Linked DNA regions of Homo sapiens: region 1 is linked to region 2. The links are contacts of gene promoters, found by promoter capture Hi-C in blood cells and fetal thymus (Javierre and others, 2016). All regions are on one chromosome and are shown on one strand. The core of a region is centred on a gene start or on the middle of the fragment in contact, and the rest is flanking DNA. Distances in the headings are between cores, read along the strand shown.

Region 1 (5,929 bases), core at 1,881-4,380, 340 kb before region 2:
ACGTTAGTACAAGGTAAAAAATAAGGAATGCCACTAGGAATTCATGCCATGTTTTATAGAATTTGTTTAAAGGAAGGAGACAGTATTTTCTCATCTGGGAGATAAGTATAGGCTTCTGGGAGGAGGTGGCTTTTGAGCAAGATCTTGAAGAGTGGGTGGGATTTGGTTAGGTAGCAGTGTTCATAAAGGATTCTGGATAAATAGAATAATGTGAACAAAATTGCATAGTTGTGAAAAGCGCTCAGTGTGTTTTTAGCTGGTCGTTGGTATGTGAATAAGAGAATGTGGGAGTTAACACTGGAGAGATATGTCGGGGTCAGAGGATGTCAGGTTTGTTTATTAGGAGTTTAAGAGTGCAATTCATAATTTTTGAATGGTGTATGAACAGAGCTTTGTTTTAGGAACACTAAACTGAAAGAATATGCATGTGAAGAAGGAGGCTGAAGTTAGGGGAATGTTTAGGAGACTGTTAAGGAATCCAAACCAGACTTGACTGCATTAGTGTGGTTTAATCTGGGCTGGAAAGTTGGACAAGAAGAGTACTTTGAGTGCATGGTTTTCTTTTTTTTTTTTTTTTTATTTTGAGATGGAGTTTTTGCTCTTGTTGCCCAGGCTAGAGTGCAGGCCCAGACGTGATCTTGGCTCACTGCAACCTCCGCCTCCTGAGTTCAAGCAGTTCTCCTGCCTCAGCCTCCTAATTAGCTGGGATTACAGATGTGCGCCACCACACCCGGCTAATTTTTGTATTTTTAGTAGAGATGGGGTTTCACCATGTTGGTCAGGCTGGTCTCGAACTCCTGACCTCAGGTGATCCCACCCCTGGCCTCAGCCTCCCAAAGTGCTGGGATTACAGGTGTGAGCCACCGCGCCTAGCGAGTGCATGGTTTTCTAAATACTTGTTGACTTAAATGTTCTCAGTTGCCTGTGCATATGTAAGTTTTAACAAAATATTGATTCTAGAGTCTAACATTTTCTTTTCAAGATTGTAAGAATGGCAGAATTTCATGAGCCACTTCCTTGTTTATGATAGATTATGCATTCTCCCCTCTTGCTGAGTTTTTATGGCTTTGAGGTTTATGATTATGATTTTTTTAGGGCTGTGGCAGAAATTCTCAGGAGCAGCATGCCTTGAAGCACTATCTGACGCCAAGATCTGAACCTCACTGTCTGGTTCTTAGTTTGGACAACTGGAGTGTATGGTGAGTTTCAGTTCCTCTGCCTCTTGGGTGGAAATTATTTGAAATATTAGAGAATGGAAATGTTTAAATATGTTTAAGAAGAAAGCAATTTAAAATTTTTGTAGTATGTTTTAAAATACCATCACTTTCACAAAGCTAAAGAATGCAGTATTATGAGAAGCTTTTACTTGGACGTTTGCACAAGCACAAACATTGTAACATAGAAGACTTAAGAATCTTTACCCCTTTGTTTTTCTTGCTTGTGATATTATAAGGCATATAGTGGAGATAGGGACGCTAAGAACAAATTTCAGATAAAATTGTAATAAAATTTTGGCTATGAATTTGCATGAAAATAAATGTCAGTCTGGTATGTTATAGATGCTGCATTGTAACATCATTAAAACAGATTTTTACGTCTTAAAAATCATTTTCACAGTAGTCTTCACTGAATGACATCTTTTTTTTTTTTTTGAGACGGAATCTTTCTGTCGCCCAGGCTGGAGTGCAGTGGTGTGATCTCGGCTCACCACAACCTCCGCCTCCCAGGTTCAAGCAATTCTCCTGCCTCAGCCTCCCGAGTAGCTGAGATTACAGGGATGCACCACCACGCCCGGCTAATTTTTGTATTTTTAGTAGAGACGGGGTTTCACCATGTTGGTCAGGCTGGTCTCAAACTCCTGACCTCGTGATCCCCTTGTGATCCGCATGCCTCAGCCTCCCAAAGTGCTGGGATTACAGGCATGAGCCACCGTGCCTGGCTTGAATGGCATCTTTCAATTGTAAAAGTTGTTACTTTTGTCTGGCTAACACGTTGAAACCCCATCTCTACTAAAAATACAAAAAAAAAGTAGCTGGGCATGGTGGTGGGTGCCTGTAGTCCCAGCTACTCGGGAGGCTGAGGTAGGAGAATGGCATGAACCAGGGAGCTGGAGGTTGCAGTGAGCCGAGATCCTGCCACTGCACGCAGCCTGGGCAACAGAGCGAGACTCCGTCTCAAAAAAAACCAAAAAACAAAACAAACAAAAAAAAGTTGTTATTTTTGTTAGTGTTATTCTGTATTTTAAAATATATGTAAACAATCTTTTGACTTCAATGTTATAACCAGTAAAGTAAAACGTTTGGAGTATTTCATCATACTACTTATATGCAGCCATAATTCTGGCTAATTTTATTAATAATAAACCAGAGTTAATATGCATAGTCTTCTTCAGGAAAACAGAATTTTTACGTTCGGTTTCTTTAATAGAATAAGTTGGCAGTTACACACTTTGATTCCAGGAATTATTATTTGTCTCCCCCTTTTTAGTTGTCATTTTGTCATTTTTCATCTCTGATTTTTGGGTCACAGGTGTTACGTATGTGATAATGAGGTCCAGTATTGTAGTTCAAACCAGTTGGGTCAAGTGGTTGATTATGTCAGAAAACAAGCCAGCATTACAACTCCAAAGCCAGGTAAAATAATTTGTTTCTTTAATATACACCAAATGTCGATTTGTGTATCTGCTGATACTTAGATTTGTTATACTACCTAGCATTACATACAGCTGAGTAACATTAGTTATGGTTGATTGCAAACTATGAAACTATTTTTGGTTTAACTATAAGGTATTAGAAGGGATATGAGAAATGATCTAGTCAGATGTGATGAAGGCCATAGACTAAGGTAATGGCCATTAATGCTAAGACTAAGGTAATTCCCATAACCCTAGCCAGGCTTACTATAGACCTGCCTTACACTGTTCTTACTGTCGTACATTTTGTAATAGCAAGATTTCAGTCTGTCTGCTGGGATAACATAAAGCATTTGTGATTCCTTCTAATGGTCAGATATTTCTTAGGTTCTTTCCATGCATAATTAAATTAATTGGCTGACATACAGCATTTGCTTTAAGCATGTTTTTTAAGTTTTTATTGTCACAAGTATCTTTGTCAGAGCCAGAATTATTTGTTTTTTACTTTAGGATTGATTTTTGACCCACAGAATTCATTAAAAAATTTATTTCATGTCCATGTTCTTGATTGTTTTATATTCTTAATTTCACAAGGTAAGATGTGTTCATTTGTAAAGAATTTTCGTGCAGTAAAAAAGGGAGATTTATACCAAAGCACATACTGTTTGGTTTCATTTATCAAACTAATGCTTACTTTAGGTCTGAGTATTTTTTGTTTACTGGGTTTTGTGTTTTTTTTCTGGATGGCAATTTACCTGTATCTATTTAAAATCAAATGGGTGGGTGGGTTGGAAAGAATGACTTCAGGTAAACTCACAAACTCTAGTACTGTTTCCCAAGTATACTTCTGCATTCGATATGACTGTATTACACATTTTGCTAAATCTTTTCTTTTTTTAAAGCAGAGAAAGATAATGGAAATATTGAACTTGAAAATAAAAAATTAGAAAAAGAGAGTAAGAATGAACAAGAGAGAGAAAAGAAGGAAAACATGGCTAAAGAGAATCCTCCCATGAATTCTCCTTGCCAAATAACCGTGAAAGGACTCAGTAATTTGGGAAACACATGTTTCTTCAATGCAGTTATGCAGGTACATTGTCATTTTTTTCCCTTTAAAAAAGCTGTCCTTTTCCTCATAGAATCTGCTACTTACATTATTGAGTTTTTTCCACCTGAGTAATTTATTTCTATGTATCCAAAGAAAACTTTTTTTTTTTTTTTTTTTTTTTTTGAGACAGGGTCTCACTCTGTCACTCGGCTGGAGTGCAGTGGCACGATCGTGGCTCACTGCAGCCTCTACCTCTTGGGCTCAAGCAGTCCTCCTACCTTAGCCTCCAGAGTAGCTGGGACTACAGGCATGCGCCACCACTCCCAGCTAGTTTTTGTATCTTTTGTAGAGACAGGGTTTCGCCATGTTGCCTAGGCTAGTCTTGAACTCCTGGGCTTAAGCCGTCCACCCCCTTTGGCCACCCAAAGTGTTTGGATTACAGGCGTGAGCCACCATGCCTGGCCAAAGAAAACTTAAGGAAAGTTTTATTGCATGACAGTAAGAGAGTTTGGTGAGCACTCGGGTGCAGTGGGTTTGAAAGAAATATTGCTGCTTCTTTCATGGAGCTTGCACTTGGGTGGAGGAAACACAGGATAACCTCATATAGAAGCAAATACGTACCTACAGGTAGTGGTAAGTGGTTGTGAGAGAGTCATGGTGGAGGATTGGGGATAGCTACTTCTGATTGGGTGGTGGGAGAATGCCCCACTGAGGTGATGAATAAGCTCAGAACTGAAGTAGTTATGACCCAAATAGAGTAGGGAGAGAAGCATCTGTAACTTTTCATTTTCCAAGTATAGAGTTTTCAGTGTTGGTCATGATTTTCTGTTTTGATAGAATAGACACTTAAGAAGTGTCAGAGTTGATTTGCCTTTAAATAATTTTTCTCTTTTTTTTTCACCCTACATTCTAGAACTTGTCACAAACACCAGTGCTTAGAGAACTACTAAAAGAAGTGAAAATGTCTGGAACAATTGTAAAAATTGAACCACCTGATTTGGCATTAACAGTATGTTCTTTAAACTTTTCTAGTCTGTAACTTTCCTCTCTGAATGTGTGTTTTCTAAATTATTTTAAATAACTGACACTCATTTCCACTGTTTTTGTTTGTTTTGTTTTACTTTAGGCTACTAACTTAAACAGTTTCAGGCTAATAGAAGTTATAAGGAGGCATTACATCTGTTTGCTGTGTGTGTGCTCTGTTTTTCTATGCTCGAGTGTTAAGCTTCCTTCTTGGGAATGTGTATATGTTTGAGAAGCCTTAGGCTTACATTATTATTTTTAACATCTTTAAGGTGACTTAAGAGCTGTGTAACCAAATAAATATTACCTTATCCATTTTTATTATTTACATTTTGCTTTGGCTCTTTCAATTCTTAGGTAGTAAGTGTTCCAGATAATCTAAAACTAAAATAGTAGAGCTGAATTCTGCATAAGACAGTCTGTGACCAAACAGTTTCTATCTCTTTTGATGTACATTTTAAACTTTTAAATGGGGCAGTTCTGTCAGGAACATTGGTAGTATATGTTAACTAATTAGATTTTAGTAAAGTCAGTGATTCCAGAATTTGACTGAAGAAAGTAATTTCTTTTCCCATATTCAGGAACCATTAGAAATAAACCTTGAGCCTCCAGGCCCTCTTACTTTAGCCATGAGCCAGTTTCTTAATGAGATGCAAGAGACCAAAAAGGGGGTTGTGACACCGAAAGAACTCTTTTCTCAGGTCTGTAAAAAGTGAGTATCCACTTCGATTGTGCTTTCAGTGCCTCAGTGAGATGCTGAGAAATAATATTAATATTAAATAGTAAAATATAAAAATATTAATAGCATTACATTTAGTCAACCCTCTATATACAAAAGGCATAGTTTTTTTTCATTTGGATTTTAAAATATATTTTATGTGATAGTTAAATCTCCCAAGGGTGTTAATGGACTAAACGGAAATTTGTAGAAACCAGAACTCTCTGAGATTTGGGATATGATCCTAAGATTTTCTAAAAATAGCTTCAGAGCTTAGTAGACTGAAGATTGCTTTTCTGTCTTTTTGTTTTTCTCTAGAGCAGTGCGGTTTAAAGGCTATCAGCAGCAAGACAGCCAGGAGCTGCTTCGCTACTTATTGGATGGGATGAGAGCAGAAGAACACCAAGTTAGCATGTTATGACCATTGTATTTTATGATCTTATCTTCATAAGCTTTCTGTCTCATTTGATATCTTACGAGTTAAAACAATGAAAGCTAGTTATTAAGG
Region 2 (6,282 bases), core at 1,665-4,164:
TTGTGTGATGATGTTTCCAGATGAGATTTGCATTTGAGTCAGTGGACTCCATAAGATAGATTGCCCTTCCCTGAATGGAAGTGTATTAGCCAATTTGCTGAGAGCCTGAACAGAACAAAAGATGGAGAAAGGAGAATTCACCTCCTCTGCCTGACTGATTGAGCTGGGATATCAGTCTCCTTCTGCCCTCAAACTGAGACTTAAACCATCAGCTCCACTGGTTCTCAGGCCTTGGGTCCGAAACCAAACTACACTACCAGCTTTCCTGGGTCTGCAGCTTGCAGATGGCAGAGCATGGGACTTCTTAGCCTTCATAATCAAGCGAGCTAATTCCTCATAATTAGTCCATCTGTGTTAGTCCATTCTCACACTGCTATGGAGAAATACCCGAGACTAGGTAATTTATAAAGAAAAGCGGTTTAATTGACTCACAGTTGTGTATTGCTGGGGAGGCCACAGGTAACTTACAATCATGGCGCAAGGTAAAGGAGAAGCAGGCACCTTCTTCACAAGGGTGGCAGGATAGAGTGCAAGCTGGGGAAATGCCAGATGCTTATAAAACCATGAGATATCGTGAGAACTCACTATCACAAGAACAGCTTGGGGGAACTGCACCCATGATCCAATTACCTCCACCTGGTCCTGACCTTGACACATGGGGATTATGGGGATTACAGTTCCTGGTGGGATTTGGGTGGGGACACAGAGCCAAACCATATCACTATCTCTCCCCCTCATCCCCTCTCTCTCTATTAAATCCCTTATTGGTTCTGTTTCTCTGGAAAACCCTGAATACAGTGGGAAAGAGGTAAACCTTTGTGGTTGTAAGCTACTGAGACTTTGGGGTTATTTGTTACTGTAGCATGATCTGGCCTATTCTAATTTATACAGTGGGATTTTTTTTTCCCCCACAAACACTAAGGAAGTAGCATGTGGAAGGCCAGACCTTCTGTTGCCATCAGTAGGGGGGTTTCTGTAGTCTGAGGACCTATGAGCCTTTTGGGTTACCTTTGACTTGCACTTGGGCTTTTATGTTGATGCCAAGCAGTATGTTTATACTTCTCTAAAATGTATTTTTCTCTATATAAATAGTGTTTTTGTTAACTCTCACCGGCTCCAGTCTCAACTTTTGCCTCTAATTTTTCCCATAATATTCACTAACTCTAGTGATAGCTGTCTATGCGCATTGTACTGAGACTAATTCAGAGAGTGGGTTGGATGAACTTTGGTTTGATTTGTACGTAATTGTTAAAAACTGTGTTTAAGAAAACAGTTGTACCCTTGGCAAAACCTGGAAGTCTCTATGTTAACAATTTTCCCAATTTTTGTTTTAGGAAGCCATTCTGCATATTATGTTTTTAAATAAAAGGATTTGACTTTGGGCTGACAATTTAGCATTTAACCACTGTCTCCGCACCAGTTCCACAAGAGCAGGGATTTAGATTAATTGGAAAAACCTCATTGGTTTCTGATGGAGGGGGCATTCATAGAAACAACCTACTGACAACTAAGGAGCTACTGCGATGGGATGGGCAGCCTGCAGCTTCACTCGGTGGGCAGCCTCCACAGGTACTTTAATTCCTCGCTCTTCTGGCCAGGCATCTCTTGGTAAAGGCAGGTAGAGGAAGCAAAGCAATTACCTAGATAATTAAGGAAAAACAAACCTGTATGTGGCAGGTAACTTGGGGAGCTGCTTCTGATTTTCTAGGCAACTATTTTCATTCTTCACTTCTCTGGTGTCAGCAGGAATCTGAGCTAGATCCCAAGAGCAACTCGAACAATTACAATGCTCTCAGTTGGCAAACCCGGCTTCATAGCAACTTCCCTCCTCATTGATCTAGAGTTTGAAATAGCTTTGTCAGATCTCGGGTGTGTTCCTGCTGATTTATGGCAAAATCCCAGTAACAGCTGTGAAAATGTTTGTCCATTTGTGAAACTTCAGAAAGCGGGTCTAGCAAATCATTCTCACCTGGTGATTCTGGGGCAAGGTGAGAACTGTACCCTCACAGGCCGGGTGAATAAGATTCTAGTTGCGGTGGAGGCCAAGGAAGAAGATGTACTATGAGTCAATCTCTCTATGAGGCATTTGCTGAACCTTCCCCTCCTACACCTTCCTACAAGGCAGGTCCGATGACTTTTACTTTACAGATGAGAAGATGGAGCCTCCACAAGGCACATAGCTGGTGAGTGACAAAACCAGAATTCAAACCCAGATCCATTTGATAGTGACATTTGTTTCCACTACCCTAGTGGCTCTGGGGGAAGCCAGGACACCCATATTTTTGTAAAGTCCCGTAGTTGTTTCTAGTGTCATCCGGGTTGGAAACTGTATATTAAGTCAGTGGTTCTCAAACTTTAGCATGCATTAGTATCCCCTGTTAGGCTTGTAAAAACACAGATTGCAGGCCCCACACTTAGATTTCTGACTTGGTAGGTAGGTCTGAGTTGGGAACCAGGAACTTGCCTTTCTAACAAGTTCCCAAGTGATGTTGATGCGGGGGCCTGGGCACTACACTATGGGAACCACCACCGCATTAAGGTGAACTCAGAGCTGAATCTGACATGAAAATCTGCATTAATGGAGATGACATCAGATATCTGCAAAGTCACTTAATAGAGAACGGTTGAGACTAAGTCTTGACTAATATTAAAACTAACACATCTAAAAAGACTATGTCCATCACAGGTGGGTGGTCAGAATAGAAACATTACATAATGGGAAAGAAAATGTAGCTGATGCTATTCATCTAGAAGGAAGAAGTGATGTAAGGGTCAGTTTCCACCTTTGCTTTGAATTCCTTGGACAGCAAGCAACCATATGAGCATTAATTTGATTTATGTTTTTCAGGTATCGTATCTGATTTCAGATACATATGATGGTCTCAAGTGTGTTTTTTACCACCACCACTTTGTAGGCCTGTTGATGCCACTGCTGTTGAAGTCTATGTGAATGGTGCCCCCTGGTGGAAGGAAAAAGGTAGTTTATTACAGTCCGTTGTAAATGAGTGACCTAGCGTTGTTATCATGCTCTGCTCCTAGAGACCACTCCACTCACCTTAAACTAGCGAGCCTGAGGACCGGTCCCGGGGACCCATGAGAACATGATCTCCGAGAGCCCTGCCCTTGAGAAAGGTTCTCCTCAGCAATACTCCAACTCACCCCAGACCTAAAATTTTTTTTTTTTTTTTTGGAGACAGAGTCTTGCTCTGTCGCCAGGCTGGAGTGCAGTGGCATGATCTTGGCTCACTGCAACCTTTGCCTCCTGGGTTCAAGCAATTCCCTTGTCTCAGCCTCCCGAGTAGCTGGGACTACAAGCGCACACCACCTCGCCTGGCTCATTTTTTGTATTTTAGTAGAGACGGGGGTTTCACCATGTTGGCCAGGATGGTTTCGATCTCCTGACCTTGTGATCTGCCAGCCTTAGCCTCCCAAAGTGCTGGGATTACAGGCGTGAGCCACCATGCACGGCCCTAAAATTCTTAAAACGTGAAAATGGGGGAAGATGGTTAACACATCCATATGCTATCATGATATATATCTTTCTTCTTAGTTGTATGGGATGAAATGATGCCAAGATTTTCCTTACAGAGTAGGGATTGTGACTGAAGCCTTTGGACAGGTATTTAGGCCCTTATGAGTGTCCCCTCTTGTCTAGAGAATGGGACGCCAGGAATGTCAGATGCTTTTCAGCCTCTCCCCTGCTCTCACGCCTAGAAACAAGAGCTCCACAAAGGTCTCTCATTCCTCAAGGCTGATGAAAAGCCCAGCAGCTAAATGGCCAGAAGCCTGTCTTTGTGAGAAAGCAAGAAGTCTCTCGGTTTGAACTCTTCGGTCTAGAGACAGATTCTTCTACCAGTGGTGTAAAACCCTAAAGAGGCTCTGCATAAGACCTACCACTGCTCTGTGTCTCATGACACCCTGCCCCCACCACTGGAAGGCCACACTTATTCTTTGTGTTCATGCTTCTCTATGATCTGCAAGTTTCCCAAGAACACCTGGATTCGAAGCTCAAGTCCACCGCTAAATAGCTATGTGACCTAATGTGTCAGATGGTTATAAGGATTACAGAGAAAGAGGTATAGATAGAGCTGGTAGCAGTGACAGACACATCTTTACATCATATAATTCTGACATGCATTATTATTGTAGTTTTCTGTTATTCAGACATACTTGTTAAGAAGGTGCTGGGGACAATTTGTACATGCTGGGTATGAAAGGGCTTGGAAAGTATTTCATGAATGGAGTTGGCATTGAGGAGTCCAATCCATGTACAATGGGTAGAATTAGAAAGGCATTGAGGATAGTGTATTAGTCTGTTTTCAAACTGCTGATAAAAACATACCTGAGAGTGGGTAATTTATAAAGAAAGAAGAGGTTTAATGGACTCACAGTTCCATGAGGCTGGGGAGGCTTCACAATCATGGCAGAAGGTGAAAGGCACATCTTACATGGCAGCAGGCAAGAGAGAATGAGAGCCAAGGAAAGGGGGAAACCCCTTACGAAACTGTCAGATCTTGTGAGACTTATTCACTACCTTGAGAACAGTATGGGGGAAACCGATTCAATTTTCTTTCACCGGGTCCCTCCCACAACACATGGGAATTATGGGAGCTACAATTCAAGATGAGATTTGGGTGGGGACACAGCCAAACCATATCAGGTGGTTACATAAGAGATCCAGTAGAGAGGTGGGAACTCCAGAGGAGATAACTCACCTGGAAAGTAGGCAATCAGGAATATAGGATCCCAGTATGATGAAAAAAAAGGGGCTGTGGGTATGGGAGGCATATCTCAGAGAGAAGAAACACTGCTGTTCATGCCTGTGAAACCCAAGGTTTCCCCTTCCTCTTAAGGGTTCTCTCCCTCTAATGAGAGTTGTTTACACTGCTGATTAGAGACTATTAAGGTCTAGAAATCAATTTGTGTGGGGTTGTGGCCAGCATTTAAAAAACAGAACAGAATATGAAATATCAATGTGCATTGCACATAGTGAGTAAATATTACTTTATGAAACTTTAATCAATTACACATGTACATGTTTATAGGGGTATGATGTAAAGTGTATCATTCCTATGGGTCTTGGTACAAGGAGTTGAGAGCTGCGTCTCTAGTGAATCTACTGGGGTGGGGAGTTTTCTCATGTCTGCTCTTACAAGGTCCTCTTGACTATTTACTTTCCAGGATGGTTTTTCCCCATCAGCCTTTTCTGAGGGTCTGAGTCAGTTTGGGCTGCTATAACAAAGTACCATAGATTGTGTGGCTTAGAAATTACAGAAATTTATTTCTCATAGTTCCAAGATTAGGATGTGAGCATGGTCGGATGCTGATGAGGACCCTCTTCCGGGTCACAGCCTGCCGTCTTCTTGTATCCTCAGAAAGAGAGAAGAGCCGGGCACGGTGGCTCACACCCGTAATCCCAGCACTTTGGGAGGCTGAGGCGGGTGGATCACTTGAGGTCAGGAGTTCAAGACCAGTCTAGCCAACTTGGTTAAACCCCGTCTCTACTAAAAAATACAAAAAATTTGCTGGGCCTGGTGGTGTATGCCTGTAATCCCAATTACTTGGGAGGCTGAGGCAGGAGAATTGTTTGAACCCGGGAGGTGGAGGTTGTGGTGAGCCAAGATCATGCCACTGTACTCCAGCCTGGGCAACAGAGTGAGACTTCATCTCAACAAAAGAGAGAAAGAAAGGAAGGAAGGATGGAAGGAAGGAAGGAAGGAGAGAACTCTTTGGGGACTCCTTTATAAGGTCACTAATTACAACATAAGGGATCCACCTTCATGACCCAATCACCTATCAAGGCTCCTCCTCCAAATACCATTGCATTGGAGGTTAGAATTTCAACATATGATTTCTGGAGGGACATAAACATTTAGTCCATAACACTGAGTTAAAGCAGGTACCTATTCACTCTCCTTCTAGTCGGGGCCTGGAGCACAGGCCACCTTCTGATGCACTGTTGCCACCTCTGCAAAGTCTGAGCAGTGAGGACTGGGTGGAGGGAGGTTGAACATGGGGAAGCTGCCCTTTCTCTCTTTTATTTTATGACCCAGCCTGTTACTCATTTCGAACTTGATATTAAAGCTGTACCAAATTTTATTACAGTGTTTGAGAAACTATAAGAGAAAGAATTTTTTTTTTTTTTTTGAGACTGAGTCTCACTCTATCACCCAGGCTGGAGTGCAGTGGCATGATCTCAGCTTGCTGCAACCTCCACCTCCCGGGCTCAAGTGATCCTCGTGTGTCAGCCTCCCGAGTAGCTGGGACTACAGGCGTGCACCA

Evidence for each region. Contacts are between HindIII fragments. The CHiCAGO score rates a contact against its expected background, and 5 or more counts as called.
Region 1: a fragment that was not itself captured here is called in contact with the fragment with the promoter of BACH1-IT2 in region 2 in 1 of 17 cell types (neutrophils); the score reaches 6.5 in neutrophils.

What each region holds. Positions count from the first base shown.
Region 1 is chr21:29,033,742-29,039,670 of GRCh38, forward strand. It overlaps USP16 (ubiquitin specific peptidase 16), which reads left to right. Exons shown (of 18, transcript NM_006447.3): 4 at 1,096-1,199; 5 at 2,530-2,633; 6 at 3,535-3,722; 7 at 4,594-4,689; 8 at 5,285-5,415; 9 at 5,740-5,827. Among named protein-coding and RNA genes, the nearest start is that of USP16, 12 kb to the left of the region's middle. The HindIII fragment of the contact is 3,546 bases long and covers 1,358-4,903 here.
Region 2 is chr21:29,369,587-29,375,868 of GRCh38, forward strand. It overlaps BACH1-IT2 (BACH1 intronic transcript 2), which reads left to right and starts at 2,915. Exons shown (of 2, transcript NR_046564.2): 1 at 2,915-2,977; 2 at 3,656-4,394. The HindIII fragment of the contact is 7,280 bases long and covers 1-6,282 here.